Regions from separate parts of the Homo sapiens genome. Here region 2 is linked to region 1. Evidence: promoter capture Hi-C in 16 types of primary human blood cells and fetal thymus (Javierre and others, 2016). All regions are on one chromosome and are shown on one strand. Each heading gives the region's core, a stretch centred on a gene start or on the middle of the fragment in contact. The rest is flanking DNA. Distances are from core to core; before and after follow the strand shown. Region 1 holds the start of OLIG1 (oligodendrocyte transcription factor 1). Region 2 has its middle 33 kb from the start of LINC01690.

What was found. The method cuts DNA at HindIII sites, captures the fragments that hold promoters and counts their contacts. A CHiCAGO score of 5 or more calls a contact.
Region 2: a fragment that was not itself captured here is called in contact with the fragment with the promoter of OLIG1 in region 1 in 5 of 17 cell types (M1 macrophages, neutrophils, M2 macrophages and 2 more); the score reaches 6.0 in M1 macrophages.

The regions. Positions count from the first base shown.
Region 1 is chr21:33,066,159-33,073,182 of GRCh38, forward strand. OLIG1 (oligodendrocyte transcription factor 1) reads left to right here and starts at 3,983. Exons shown (of 1, transcript NM_138983.3): 1 at 3,983-6,255. The coding sequence starts at 4,089. The coding sequence ends at 4,904. The HindIII fragment of the contact is 4,947 bases long and covers 820-5,766 here.
Region 2 is chr21:32,988,585-32,995,608 of GRCh38, forward strand. No RefSeq gene overlaps it. Among named protein-coding and RNA genes, the nearest start is that of LINC01690, 33 kb to the left of the region's middle. The HindIII fragment of the contact is 8,548 bases long and covers 1-6,905 here.

The DNA.
Region 1 (7,024 bases), core at 2,733-5,232:
GTCCTTCCACATTGGAAATAAAGACAACTATGACAACTATATTGCATTGTACACAACAACTACACAACATTGTAAGCAACAATAAACATTGTGTCAGTTTACAACAACTTGTTTAACTTGTATTCTCTGTCAAAGTGAACAAAACTCATTTTCTTTCACATTTTCCCAGCAGGAATCTTTATTTAACCTGAACTGCTTCTAAGTGTGACTGAGACTCTGGTGAGCTGGTCCCAGATGAGATGGGATCAAGCATCCCCAAGGAGTCCTCCCTGTCCAAGAACAACTACCGAAGGGTAATCCATTTACTCTTCCCCAATTTTCTCTCTCTACTACTACTCTCCTCTACCCAGAAAGGAGAAATGTAGAACAAAGCTAAGGGCTACTCGCTTTGCAGCTCCTTCCCTGACCTTTGTGTTCCAGGAAGAGTTATATTTGGATGGGATGGGGGCACCTGATATAGGGCAAACAACGGACAAGGCTTCCGCTTCTCCTAGAGACAGTGTAAATATCAACACCTACTGGGTAATTTAAACTTTCCAAAGAATATTGACCTTCTTAGAAGTAAGTAGCACTTTAAAAAGTGAACTTCATTATTCCATTAGAGGTCTAAGCTCTAGCCAGTTAAGCAGCACATTTTAGCAGCTGTTTACACTCTGCTGGCCTTCTGCAAGAGGACGGTTTCATGCAGGACAACAGGGGGCTTCACAGCAGTACACCCCATCTTTGTTCTTACAGAGGAGAAGGATGGTGCTACATCTGAAACACACTCACACATCACTGAGGCTTTGAGTCCCCAGTGTCTGCCATTTCCAAGGTCCAAGCTTCTTGACCCAAAGCAAGAGTAGATGGCAGGGACAGGGGAATGCGCAGGAGACACTAGGTTTCTACACAAGGAAAAGGAAATCTGAGGCACACACCTCTGCAGAGTGAAAGGAATCACCAACACACACACACAAGCCCCTTTAGGCAAAGAAAAGAGCGGTTGTTATGGTGGACACAAGTTGCTCCCCAAGCATGTCCTCAATGTGGGAGGCCGCAGCAGCTGCCTCCCCTTGAGACAGACCCCGGGGCCCGTGCCAGCGGCCACAGTAACTGGCTGGCCCTTGCCAGCTGTCACACTTTGCATGCCGCTGCTTCAGCCCAGCACAAGGGACCATCCAAGTCACCAGCTCCAACCAGTCCCAAATCCCGTGCCCAGGCTGGAGCTGGATGGCCACCCAGAACCCTCTTCTGAGGCCCTCTACCAAGGCACTGAAATATGCAGCATATCCAGTTGACAGTATCCTTGGCTGGGGGAGAGATAAGTCTTACAAGGAGGAGATAAGGTGAGACTTAGGTCTAAAGAAAACCCTCAGGGACACCCACAGGAAAGAGGGGTGCTTCTAGAGGGGAAAGGCAGCATGTGTGTGTTTCCATCTGTTTGACTCCTGGGTGCCCCTTCCTGTGGGTGGGAAATGGGGAGCGTACAAGTTAGGCAACAGGCCAAGGCTTTAGATTTTATCTTCCCCATTCACTTCCTCTTTCTGCTGGCAGGGTAAGACCCTACGGGCCCCACCTAGGCTGTGTGCAGGGGAGGAAGCCGGAGGGGGATGTCACCAGGGCCTGCCCCAATCTGGCACCTCAGCTACAGGACAGAGGGTCCTGACAGTGAGGGTGGGCATTGCCGAAGAGGCTGGAGCAGGGTTTATGGTGGCAGGATTCTGGGGACACTCTCTTGGGGAACATGGCTGGAACCCACCAACTCATCAATATTGGCACAGTCTAGGCTGGCCCCTCCATCCTTACACCCAATCCCCAACCCGCCCCATCATGGCCCCCTCCTGGGCTTCCTGGAAGCCTGGTTCTGCTGGAGGGAATTCAGGAAGCCAGTCCTTGGTGGGGCCGCTCTGCCTGTCCTGTCTGAAGGCACAGAGCAATCTACTGCCTTCTGGGAGCCTCAGTTATATCATGGACATCAAGGGATCAAAAATGCCCAGCTCACAGGGGCCCCATGAGAACCAAACGTGAAAGTGTCTGTAAAAATGACTTGAAAGCAAGCTGCTTCAACAGAAGGCGAAATGATTAGTGAGGTGTTAAACTTAATTGCTTGAAACATTCAAGACCCTTCCCTTGGTCTCTCTCTCTCCTTCCTGCTTAGTATGGTTCTGCTTAAGCACTCAGCTCCTTCCTACCAAGGCTTCCCTCTCTCTCCCAAAGTGGGGCCCCCAGCACCACGTCCATGTCAGGCCAGGCCCCTCTGAGAGGCAGGAGATCTTACCAGGTTCCTTCCCTCTCTATAAAACCTTTAGGAAAATGCTTGGGTTAGAGCATTGCCAGGAGTTTGTGCATTTAAGGGATGAGCCTCTGAGCTAAGGGAGATTTCAGACCATCTTTAGAGACCTCCAGGACACACAGTAAGTGCCAAGCACTGTGCTAGGCTTCAGGAAGATGGAGAAATGAGCAGGTGGTCCCTACCGTAAAACAATCATAGCCAAATGCAGAGATGGTATCTACATAACACAATAGGCTATGAAGAAATCCTATCAATGGTTTGCCAAGAGTCATGAAAGGAGGAAGAGGAGAAATCACCAAGGCTTCCAGAAGAAAGCAAGGTTGGAGCTGAACCTGAGGCATAGGCAGGATGCTACAGGCAGAGCTGGGGGTCAGAAGCAAAGATCAGAGTGAACCCATGTGGCAAATATTGGTGGAAGAAAACCAGAACAAAGCAGCCCTGAAACCAGCAAGCACAGCCACCAAGATGCCCTCTTCCCCAGGACATTGACAAGTTATAGTAGCATGCACTGGTGCTGGGGGCAGAAAATGTCCATAGACACCAAGTAATGCTATTCTATTTGGCAAATAAAATGATTCATTCCCACCCTCAACCGATAGGACTATGTGGGTGTTTTGTTTTGTTTCTAATAAGAGGCCAATTTCTGAGTGACTTTTGCTTAAGCAAATGTCAAGTTGCTGATAGACCATCCCTTTCGGGGAGGATAGAAACCCGACCCAAAGGCTCCTTTGTCCCTAAAGACCTTTCAATCAGAGGGATGGGGAAGGAGGTTGGGAGCAGCAGGGAGGAAATATCCTAATGCTACTTGTCATTTAGTCCAGAAATTTAGCGACCTGAACCTGGCAGGAAATTATGTATTTTAAGAAAAAAAAAACATGATACACTCATGTTCATAGCAGCATAATTCGCAACAACCAAAAGCACCCCAAATGTCCATCAACGAATGAATGGATAAACCAAATGTGGTATATCCATATACTGGAATATTATTCAGCCTTGAAAAGGAAGAAACTTTGATACATGCTACAACATGGATAAACCTTGACGACAATATGCTAAGTGAAAGAAGCCAGTCACTAAAAGACAAGTGCTGTATGATTCTACTTATATGAGGGACCTAGAGTAGAACAAATTCATAGAGACAGAACAGAAGAGTGAATTCCAGGAACTTGGGTCGGGGGGAGTGGGGAGTTGTTTAATGGGTGGAGCTTCAGGGTTGCAAGTTGAAAAGAGTTCTGGAGATGGGTTGCACAACAATGTGAATTTAATTTAAATCAATTTAATGTGCACACTAATGCATATAACATTACTGAACAGTACTCTAAACATAAGACGGTAAATTTTATGTTATGAATATGTGATCACAGTTAAAAAAAAATATGAGGGAGGTTGTTTTTGAGTAGACAGTTGCTGGAGGAAGGCACGTGAGTTGCAGCCTGACCAGTGCGACCAGTCCTCCTTCAACAGCCCCGCTTGCCTTGAAAAGGCGCCCTTACTCCGCTCAGGGGGCCTGTCCCGCGCGGCTGGCACAGGCGCTCACAATAACCTCCTAAAGCGGTGCCAGCCGCACCTCCGCGCGGCCCCGGCACAAGCAGCCAATGAACACGCGGCTGCGCCCGGCCTCGCGCCTCCATTGGCTGCGCCCCGCCACCCGCTGCCCCGCAGGTTCCCAAGCCGGGTTTAAAGGGGTAGGGCGCGGGCCAGGGCCCCACCATCGTTTCCCCGCGCGCAGGTCCGCGGGGAGGGGCGGCCTGCCGACCGGCCCACCCCAGGGCGTTCCTGAAGGGCGTCCTCGGCCGCCCCCACCGCCTCCCAGATGTACTATGCGGTTTCCCAGGCGCGCGTGAACGCGGTCCCCGGGACCATGCTGCGGCCACAGCGGCCCGGAGACTTGCAGCTCGGGGCCTCCCTCTACGAGCTGGTGGGCTACAGGCAGCCGCCCTCCTCCTCCTCCTCCTCCACCTCCTCCACCTCCTCCACTTCCTCCTCCTCCACGACGGCCCCCCTCCTCCCCAAGGCTGCGCGCGAGAAGCCGGAGGCGCCGGCCGAGCCTCCAGGCCCCGGGCCCGGGTCAGGCGCGCACCCGGGCGGCAGCGCCCGGCCGGACGCCAAGGAGGAGCAGCAGCAGCAGCTGCGGCGCAAGATCAACAGCCGCGAGCGGAAGCGCATGCAGGACCTGAACCTGGCCATGGACGCCCTGCGCGAGGTCATCCTGCCCTACTCAGCGGCGCACTGCCAGGGCGCGCCCGGCCGCAAGCTCTCCAAGATAGCCACGCTGCTGCTCGCCCGCAACTACATCCTACTGCTGGGCAGCTCGCTGCAGGAGCTGCGCCGCGCGCTGGGCGAGGGCGCCGGGCCCGCCGCGCCGCGCCTGCTGCTGGCCGGGCTGCCCCTGCTCGCCGCCGCGCCCGGCTCCGTGCTGCTGGCGCCCGGCGCCGTAGGACCCCCCGACGCGCTGCGCCCCGCCAAGTACCTGTCGCTGGCGCTGGACGAGCCGCCGTGCGGCCAGTTCGCTCTCCCCGGCGGCGGCGCAGGCGGCCCCGGCCTCTGCACCTGCGCCGTGTGCAAGTTCCCGCACCTGGTCCCGGCCAGCCTGGGCCTGGCCGCCGTGCAGGCGCAATTCTCCAAGTGAGGGCGGGCCTGGGCCTGGGGCGCGACCTCGGCCCGGCCTCCCTTCGCTCAGCTTCTCCGCGCCCCTGCTCCCTGCGTCTGGGAGAGCGAGGCCGAGCAAGGAAAGCATTTCGAACCTTCCAGTCCAGAGGAAGGGACTGTCGGGCACCCCCTTCCCCGCCCCCACCCCTGGGACGTTAAAGTGACCAGAGCGGATGTTCGATGGCGCCTCGGGGCAGTTTGGGGTTCTGGGTCGGTTCCAGCGGCTTTAGGCAGAAAGTGCTCGCTCTCACCCAGCACATCTCTCTCCTTGTCCCTGGAGTTGCGCGCTTCGCGGGGCCGATGTAGAACTTAGGGCGCCTTGCCGTGGTTGGCGCGCCCCGGGTGCAGCGAGAGGCCATCCCCGAGCGCTACCTCCCCGGAGCGGAGCACGCCGGCTCCCAGTACTAGGGGCTGCGCTCGAGCAGTGGCGGGGGCGGAGGGGTGGTTCTTTTCCTTCTCCTCCGCCAGAGGCCACGGGCGCCCTTGTTCCCGCCGGCCAGGTCCTATCAAAGGAGGCTGCCGGAACTCAAGAGGCAGAAAAAGACCAGTTAGGCGGTGCAGACGGTCTGGGACGTGGCAGACGGACGGACCCTCGGCGGACAGGTGGTCGGCGTCGGGGTGCGGTGGGTAGGGGCGAGGACAACGCAGGGTGCGCTGGGTTGGGACGTGGGTCCACTTTTGTAGACCAGCTGTTTGGAGAGCTGTATTTAAGACTCGCGTATCCAGTGTTTTGTCGCAGAGAGTTTTCGCTCTTAAATCCTGGGGGTTTCTTAGAAAGCAACTTAGAACTCGAGATTCACCTTTCGTTTCCCTTTCCCCAAAAGTAGCGTAACCAACATTTAAGCTTGCTTAAAAACGAAAACCAACCGCCTTGCATCCAGTGTTCCCGATTTACTAAAATAGGTAACCAGGCGTCTCACAGTCGCCGTCCTGTCAAGAGCGCTAATGAACGTTCTCATTAACACGCAGGAGTACCGGGAGCCCTGAACCGCCCGCTGCTCGGCGGATCCCAGCTGCGGTGGCGACGGCGGGAAGGCGCTTTCCGCTGTTCCTCAGCGGGCCGGGCCCTTGACCAGCGCGGCCCGCAGGTCTTCCTTCTCGCCGTCTTGCAGTTGAAGAGCTACATACGTAGTCAGTTTCGATTTGTTACAGACGTTAACAAATTCCTTTACCCAAGGTTATGCTATGACCTTTCCGCAGTTTACTTTGATTTTCTATGTTTAAGGTTTTGGTTGTTGGTAGTAGCCGAATTTAACTGGCACTTTATTTTACTTCTAACCTTGTTTCCTGACGGTGTACAGAATCAACAAAATAAAACATTTAAAGTCTGATTTTTTACATTTTTTGTCTGATTTGTTTGGTAATAAAAAAGTCCTTGTATCCTAGTGGATTTAGAACCTTGGGGTGAAGGTAGGTAAATGACCGGGGTCCCAGGTTTTAAAATGTGACTTCCTGATTTGTAAAATAATCCAATGAACAGGCAACTGTAGTTCAAGTTCAGGCATTCGTGGGAAATATGAGGATTATAGGTAAGTGGGTGGGTGGGATAGAGAATGGGATAGAGAAGGGAGAGAGGCAATTCCAGGAATTCATTCTTTGCCAAGCTTCAGGCATAGGTCTTTTTTAACTACAACTTCATCCCCTGGAAAATGGGTTAAGCAATACCTTTATCATAAAATTGTAGCTCAACATCCTTCCAGGATATCCACCTTTTCTATATCCTTGGACAGAAGCTTAATACCACACAAGCATGAGCTTCCCGCTGCTGCACCCACCTACCCCTTATCATTTAAATCAGGTTGGAATTGTCTTCACCTAAGAGGTGAAGAAAGCTCTTCTGTCTGTTTGGTGCTCTTAAAAAGAATTTGGAAGGCTGACCTGCTCACATTGCAATAATGAAACACTGCATAATTATTAATGAAACCCAACCACTGTTTAATGTAGGGGAGTAGTAGAGAAGTAGTGTCCCCTTTAACCTGAGGAAAATTAAAGAAAACCCAGAGATGACTTACTCAATTTTATCCATGTTGGTTTATCTGAGGCATATACACATTTAGAGAAAATGAGCACCACTTTGGAGGTGGGGGAAGGAGGTGGGAG
Region 2 (7,024 bases), core at 1,382-3,881, 79 kb before region 1:
GTCGCTTAACTGTTCTTGCATATTTTTTATTCTCTTTATCTTTCTGAGATGCATTCTGGGTGAATTCTTGAGCATCGTTAACTAATTCCCTTCTCAGCTGCATCAAGTATGGAGCTTGATTTTATGTCTTCAGTCTTGTATTTCAATAACCATATTTTTCATTCCAAGGATTTTTTATTTTGTTCATGTTCACCTGTACTTCTTCCATTTCTGCCACTGTTTGTTTCCTAATTTCTCATCCTTCATTTCTGGGAGGACCTAAACCACATTTATTAGAAAGTCATTTTCCTATTTTGCTGTTGTTTTCATTTCTCTGGGAATTCATTCTCCAGGTGATTGATTTTTTTCAAACTTGCTGTTCTTTCTTAACATTTGCTTCCTTCATTCCTTTTGAAATCTTAGTTTGCAGAGTCATCTTAAAGGGGAGTCCCCTTTCCTTGCTTTCTGTGATACCCCCTGCTGCCATCACACACACCTCCTCATGTTCCCCAGACCAGAACCGGAGGTTACATGGCAGCTGGGGCTATGAGGATATGGAGGTTCCTGCTGGTAGCTTGGCTTAGGGCACAGCTATGAGGCCCCTCTGCCTCCTCCCACCTCCCCGGGTGCACAGTTACCTAGCGGCTATAGTCCCAGATGGTGTTGGTAGCATTCTTCAGTCTCCAGCATTCTAAAGTCTCAGTCTTTAGTTTCAAGCCTGTCCTTGGTCACCTGCCACACCTGGGACACCTATAGTCCTTCTTATCCCACAGGAGCTGAGGTTGTAACTGCCTTTCCTGTATCCAGACCCAGAGGCCAGCACACCTGTGGATTCAGCCCCACCTCCATGTTGAGTTTCTCTTGTTTCTTGCCCAAGGACATGCTACTTACCCAATTTTGATATCAACTATGCATTTTAAGTACCATTCCTTAAGTTTTTTTCCTGTCCTATCACTTCTATATATCAGAATGAAATGGAGTTGAAGGGCCCTCAGTGCATGAAATTACAATGCTATAATCCTGGGACTTGCCATTCACTTTCACCTTGAATTTCTTTATCTCTAACTTTAATTGTCTTGTACTTGCTGTATTGTTTCAAACCATCTTAAATCCTTCCAATAACTAGGAATGGGATACATACTGTGTTAGTCCCCTATGGCTGCAATAATGAAGTACCAGAAACTAGGTGGCTTAGAACAACAGAAATCTTATCCCACAGTTCTGGAGGCCAGAGTCTGAGATTGAGGTGTCAGCAGGGCCACACTTCCTCTGAAACTGGCAGGGGAAAATGTTTCCAGGTGGACTGGTTAATCATCTCTGCTTAAGGAAAAGGAGACAGAAGCCCCCAGGGGTGTGATCTTCCTAAGGTGACATAGCAGGTCATTTGCAAAATGGGGATGGGGTAACATTAAGTGAAAAGAGTAAAATTATCAAGTGAAAAAAAGTATACTGACTGGGCACTGTGGTTTACGCCTGTAATCCCAGCACTTTGGGAAGCCGAGGCAGATGGCTCACTTGAGCCCAGGCATTCGAGACCAGCCTGGGCAACATGGCAAGACCCTGTCTCTACAAAAAATACAAAAATTCACCGGGCATGGTGATGTGCACCTGTAGTCCCAGCTACTCGGGAGACTGAGGTGGGAGGACCACTTGAGCCCAGGAGGTCAAGGCTGCAGTGAGCCAAGGTTGTGCCACTGCACTCCAGCCTGGGTAACAGAGCAAGACCCTGTCTCAAAGAAAAAAAAAAAAGTCTATCACTTGTGCAAAGGGGGCCCATTTTGCTTAAACAATGGGGAGAAGTTAGCTCAATATTATAGAAACATATTTAATTACTTAAGGCAACCCATCTATGTATCTATATCTATAAACATACAGGTAGAAGTTTCATGCATATGATATCGTATGATATATGTCTATATCCAGCTACCTATCTGTATATATATTTAGCTAGACAGTATGACAAATGTCAAACCTAAGATGAATCCACAGCTATTCAAAACAGCAGCCTTGTTTAAAATATGGGAGAAATAAAACCACCCACAAAGTTTAATTAGTGAATTTCCTTACCAGTCCGGCTTCTCTAGCAAGCAGTAAGTTCAAAATCCCTAACTATTTCCCTGCAATCCTTCATTGCTCACCCAGTGGGGCAGAAGGCAGATCTTGTCCAAGACAGCCATGAACACATTACACGATTCACCGGGAGACTCCTCCAGCACCTTGACCTGCAAATTTCCAAAGGAGCTGCTCCGCTGTCAGCTCTCACCTAGAGGATGCCCCAGGGGGCAGGGCACAGCACCACATCTTTGCTCTCTGGGGTTCACTTGTCCAGGGCTTGGAGCCTGCAGGGAAAGAGGCTGCGTATCCGGCAAACCCATCTCTCCCAAACTAGCATTTCAATCCCCCAGCCCTGCATGTCTGCCTCATGACAAAGCTATTCTATGAGCTTATATCTCTCAGGGCACGACTTGGATTTTCAGTTTTAGAGCCCTGAGTGATGGGTTGTCTCAGTTGGTCCTCAAATCTCTTTCCTTTGTGTGTTTTTTGTTGTTGTGGTGGTTGTTATTTTTTGTTTGTTTATTTTTGTTTTTGTAGCTCTAGGAAACCTCTATGATTCTACTCTGTCAAAAAGAATCTACAAAGCCCCCTCTCTTCCGTTGGGTAAAATCCAAGGACCCATTGGTACCTGATCCATTTTGAGAAACACAAGCCCTGGGGAGATATTTGCCCAGCTGTGGGGAGCCACTCTTTGGAGCAGTTCACTGTTTGTAGGATGGTGAGGAGAGAGGAAGGGGACAGGGTGAAGTCTTAACTCATGCTCACATCCAGACAGACTTTTTTAATCGCAAGTAGCATCCATTCAGTTTCTCTAATCAGCTTCAAAGACCTCGTAAGGCTCCCATTACCATTGTGTGGCTGGTAATTCTGTGTCACAACTAATTACTGCCTAATAGCTGTCACAGATGCAGAGTCTCCAGTTTAAAAGCCAAGTCGATTTCTTCCTGCATTCAGACCTCGTCTGCCCCTGAGTGGTGCAGATTACATGAGGTAATACGGCAGTTATTTCTACCTGCTGCAGTTCATCAGCTCCATCTCCAGCTGAGGTAGCCGCCCGTCCCCCTTGGACAAAGATTATTTGTCATTAAAATGCTCAGGCTCGCTCACACTCTCTTTTTTCAATCTGGATGTTGCCTACACTTTGAGAAAGGTTTTTGAAGAAAGATTAGCAGGATTAGGAAAGGTTCACATATGTTCAGCCTCACTCTTGGTATTCAAGACATCACAACCCTGCACCACCCAGGAAGCACAAGAAAATGGAGCACAGGCAGAGGCCCGGGAGGGGCTGGGGGGTGAGGGGGAAGCTGTGTGGCTCCCCCACCAATAATACAAAGCTGGAGTCAAATGCAAATCTGGGGGTGTTTTACGCTGGGGAATTCCCAGGCAGTTTCCTAGAATTTTTTAAATTAATTTTTCTATTTCCATAGGTTATTGGGGAACAGGTGGTGTTTGGTTACATGAGTAAGTTCTTTAGCGGTGATTTGTGAGATTTTGGTGCACCTGTCACCCGAGCAGTGTACACTGTACCCAATTTGTGATATTTTATCCCTCACCCCCTTCCCACCCTTTCCCCTTGAGTCCCCAAAGTCCATTGTGTCATTCTTATGCCTTTGCATCCTCACAGCTTAGTTCCCACTTATGAGTGAGAACATATGATGTTTGGTTTTTCCATTCCTGAGTTATTTTACTTAGAATAAGAGTCTCCAATCGCATCCAGGTCGCTGCGAAGGCCATTAATTCATTTCTTTTTATGCCTAACTAGTTTTCCATCATATATGTCACAGTTTCTTTATCCAGTCATTGATTGGTGGGCATTTGGGTTGGTTCCATGATTTTGCAATTGTGAATTGTGCAGCCATAAACATGCGTGTGCAAGTATCTTTTTTTGTATAATGACTTCTTTTTCTCTGGGTAGATATCCAGTAGTGGGCTTACTGGGTCAAATGGTAGATCTACTTTTAGTTCTTTAAGAAAACTCCACACTGTTTTCCATAGTGGTTGTACTAGTTTACATTCCCACCAGCAGTGTAGAAGTGTTCCCTTTTCACCGCATCCACGCCAACATCTATTATTTTTTGTTTTTTTGATTATGGCCATTCTTGCAGGAGTAAGGTAGTGTTGCCTTGTGGTTTTGATTTGCATTTCCCTGATCCTTACTGATGTTGAGCATTTTTTCATATGTTTGTTGGCCATTTGTATATCTTCTAAGAATTGTCTATTCATGTCTTTAGCCCACTTTTTGATGGGATTATTTGTTTGTTTGTTTCTTGCTAACATGTTTGAGTTGGTTGTAGATTCTGGATATTAGTCCTTTGTCAGACGTATAGATTATGAAGATTTTCTCCCACTCTGTGGGTTGTCTGTTTACTCTGCTGACTGTTTTGCTGTGCAAAAGCTCTGTAGTTTAATTAAATCCCAGCTATTTATTTTTGTTTTATTGCATTTTCTTTGGGGTTCTTGGTCATGAAATCCTTGCCTAAGCCAATGTCTAGAAGAGTTTTTCCAATGTTATCTTCCAGAATTTTTAGTTTCAGGTCTTAGATCCATCTTGAGTTGATTTTTGTATAAGGTGAGAGAGGGAACTTTTGTTTTTAGCGCTGTTTTCTTTTCTCTTCCTGTGTGATTATTTGTCTCCTTTTGAGAGCCTGACCAGCAAAGGAGAAGGGAGGTGTCAGAGGCAGGACTCAACAACTTGGCCTTGAGGCAGGTTCTAAGAGCCATGCCCCACCCAACAGCTGACCCTTGGCAGTCCTTCTGTCTACTTTTTCTTGCCTTAGCTACCTTCTCAAGGGCACCAAATGAAGGAAGGGTCATGGCTCCCAGGTCCTGTGAGAAAAACCTGTTCCCAAGTTGGAATATTTCATTGAGTTAAACTTCTAACCAATCTGCACTGATCACTGGGTGTCTTAGTCCATTCGGGCTGCTCTAACAAAATATCTTAGACTAGGTAATTTATAAATAATAGAAATTTATGTCTCACAGTTCTGGAGGCTGGAAAGTTTAAGATCAAGGTGCCAGCAGATTTTGTGTCTGGTGAAGCCTCCATCTCTGCTCCACAGAGGGCACCTTTTCCTGTGTCCTCAGACAGTAGAAGGGCAAAAAGGAACTAACAGACTCCCTCAAACCCTTTTATAAGAACACTAATCCCATCCATGAAGGTGGAGCCCTCATGACATAAACCACCTCTTAAAGGCCCCATCGCCTAATACTATGGCAGTGGGGATTAGGTTTCAACATGAATTTAAGGAGGGAGGCAAACACTCAAACTGTAGCACTGAGTACCAAGAAGAATTAAAAAGGGGAAAAGAAATGGCTAGGTAGTCTTAGAATCTTCCCAAATCTCCCTGTAAAATAGAAAGAGCAACTAGAATAGCAAAGCGAAAAGAGCCATGGACAGTATCCACAACAGAGCTGGTAGTGAGGTAATCCTCCCAGACACCAAATACTAACAGGTCTGGGCAAAGCATTTACAGTTCAAGAACTGTGTGGTGGCAGCATTAGTGCCGGAAGAAGACACGTGATAAAAACTGTGGTTCTGAAGATACTGAGAGCTTGAGAATCACACAATCACCTGCAGGTATTCACCAGAGGGCACAGCAAGACCATCTGAGTACAGCAACCAAAACCAGGAGAGCTATCTGAAAACCCAATGCATGGCTAAGTGCAAGAGGACTGTGATACAATAAGGTCTGATGGTGTCGGGGTGATTTGAGCTCCATATGCCCTCAAAGTGAACAGAGTCTCTTCCAATACAAAGCCTTGCACTGATGAGTATCTGGGCAGATCAATACAGGCAAGGAAAAAAGATCCAGATAAATGGGATGGGGGTGGGCAGAGCAGAAGAGGCAGCTCTCAAAACCTTTGGAGATTTTTGTTTTATTTCCTTGCGAAAGGAACAGGAGAGGGAGCTCTAGAGCCTTTGAACTGGAAAGGTTGCCCCAGCATACCCTTCACTCCTAAAAGTATAGGAAAATTCATTTCATTTAGAAAATAAACAACAGAAAAGCATTGTGGTAAAAACTTATAAAAAGTTAAGAAGGAAAAAATGAAAAGAAAGAGCAGAAAAAATTCCTACAAAACGATGAAAGCGTGTCCAAAAGGAATGCCCACAAAACATTTCAAATATTATGAAACAAGTTAAAGAAAATTAAGAAAATGATAGAAGCTATGAAAGAATAACATACCTCAGAATTAGAAAAAAAGCTCAGAAATAAGGTGACTGGAGAAAAAAAATGCTTGAAAAGAGGGATGGCACAGTTTAGAAAATAACTAGAAATATAAAAAGAAAGGTCTGGAGAAAGACACTGATGTAAGAAATCATAGAAATACAAAGGACAGAAGAGCATGTTAAATGACACTGTGGGACGCAATGAATTCCGGACTGTGGAAAATTCTAAGTCAAATGGCTCCGTTTTTTCAACAACAAAAATGGAGGGGTTAAAAAGAAAGAAAGAAGAGGAAATGTATAAAGAAAAGAGATTTATAAGTCATTTCAAGCAAATGCAAAGTAGGAATCTTATTTCAGTTCTGGTTCAAACAATCAATTTTTTAAAATATAAAGCAACCAGGAAAATATAAACATGACAATATTTAATAATATTAAGGGATTAATATTTTTAAGTATAATAAAAATATTGTGATTTTTTAAAAATAATGATTATCTATTAGAGATGCATACTGAAACGTTTATAAATAACAGTACTTAATGTCTGGGCTCACTACAAATTATCCAGGAACAGTGGGAACAGAGGCAGATATAGAAGAACAAGATTATCCTGTATTGATATATATCAAAGCTGATTGATGAGTACTTGATTGTTCTTTGTATTATACTCTCTACTTTTGACTGTCTGAATATTACTGTAATTCAAAGCTTAATGAACAAACAAATAATAAGGGAAGTCTTAGAGCTTGGCATCCACCAGGAAGGAATACCTTTTGCTTCTTTCCTGAGAGGGCTGTGCTACCTGGAGAGGGTTTCAATAGATGC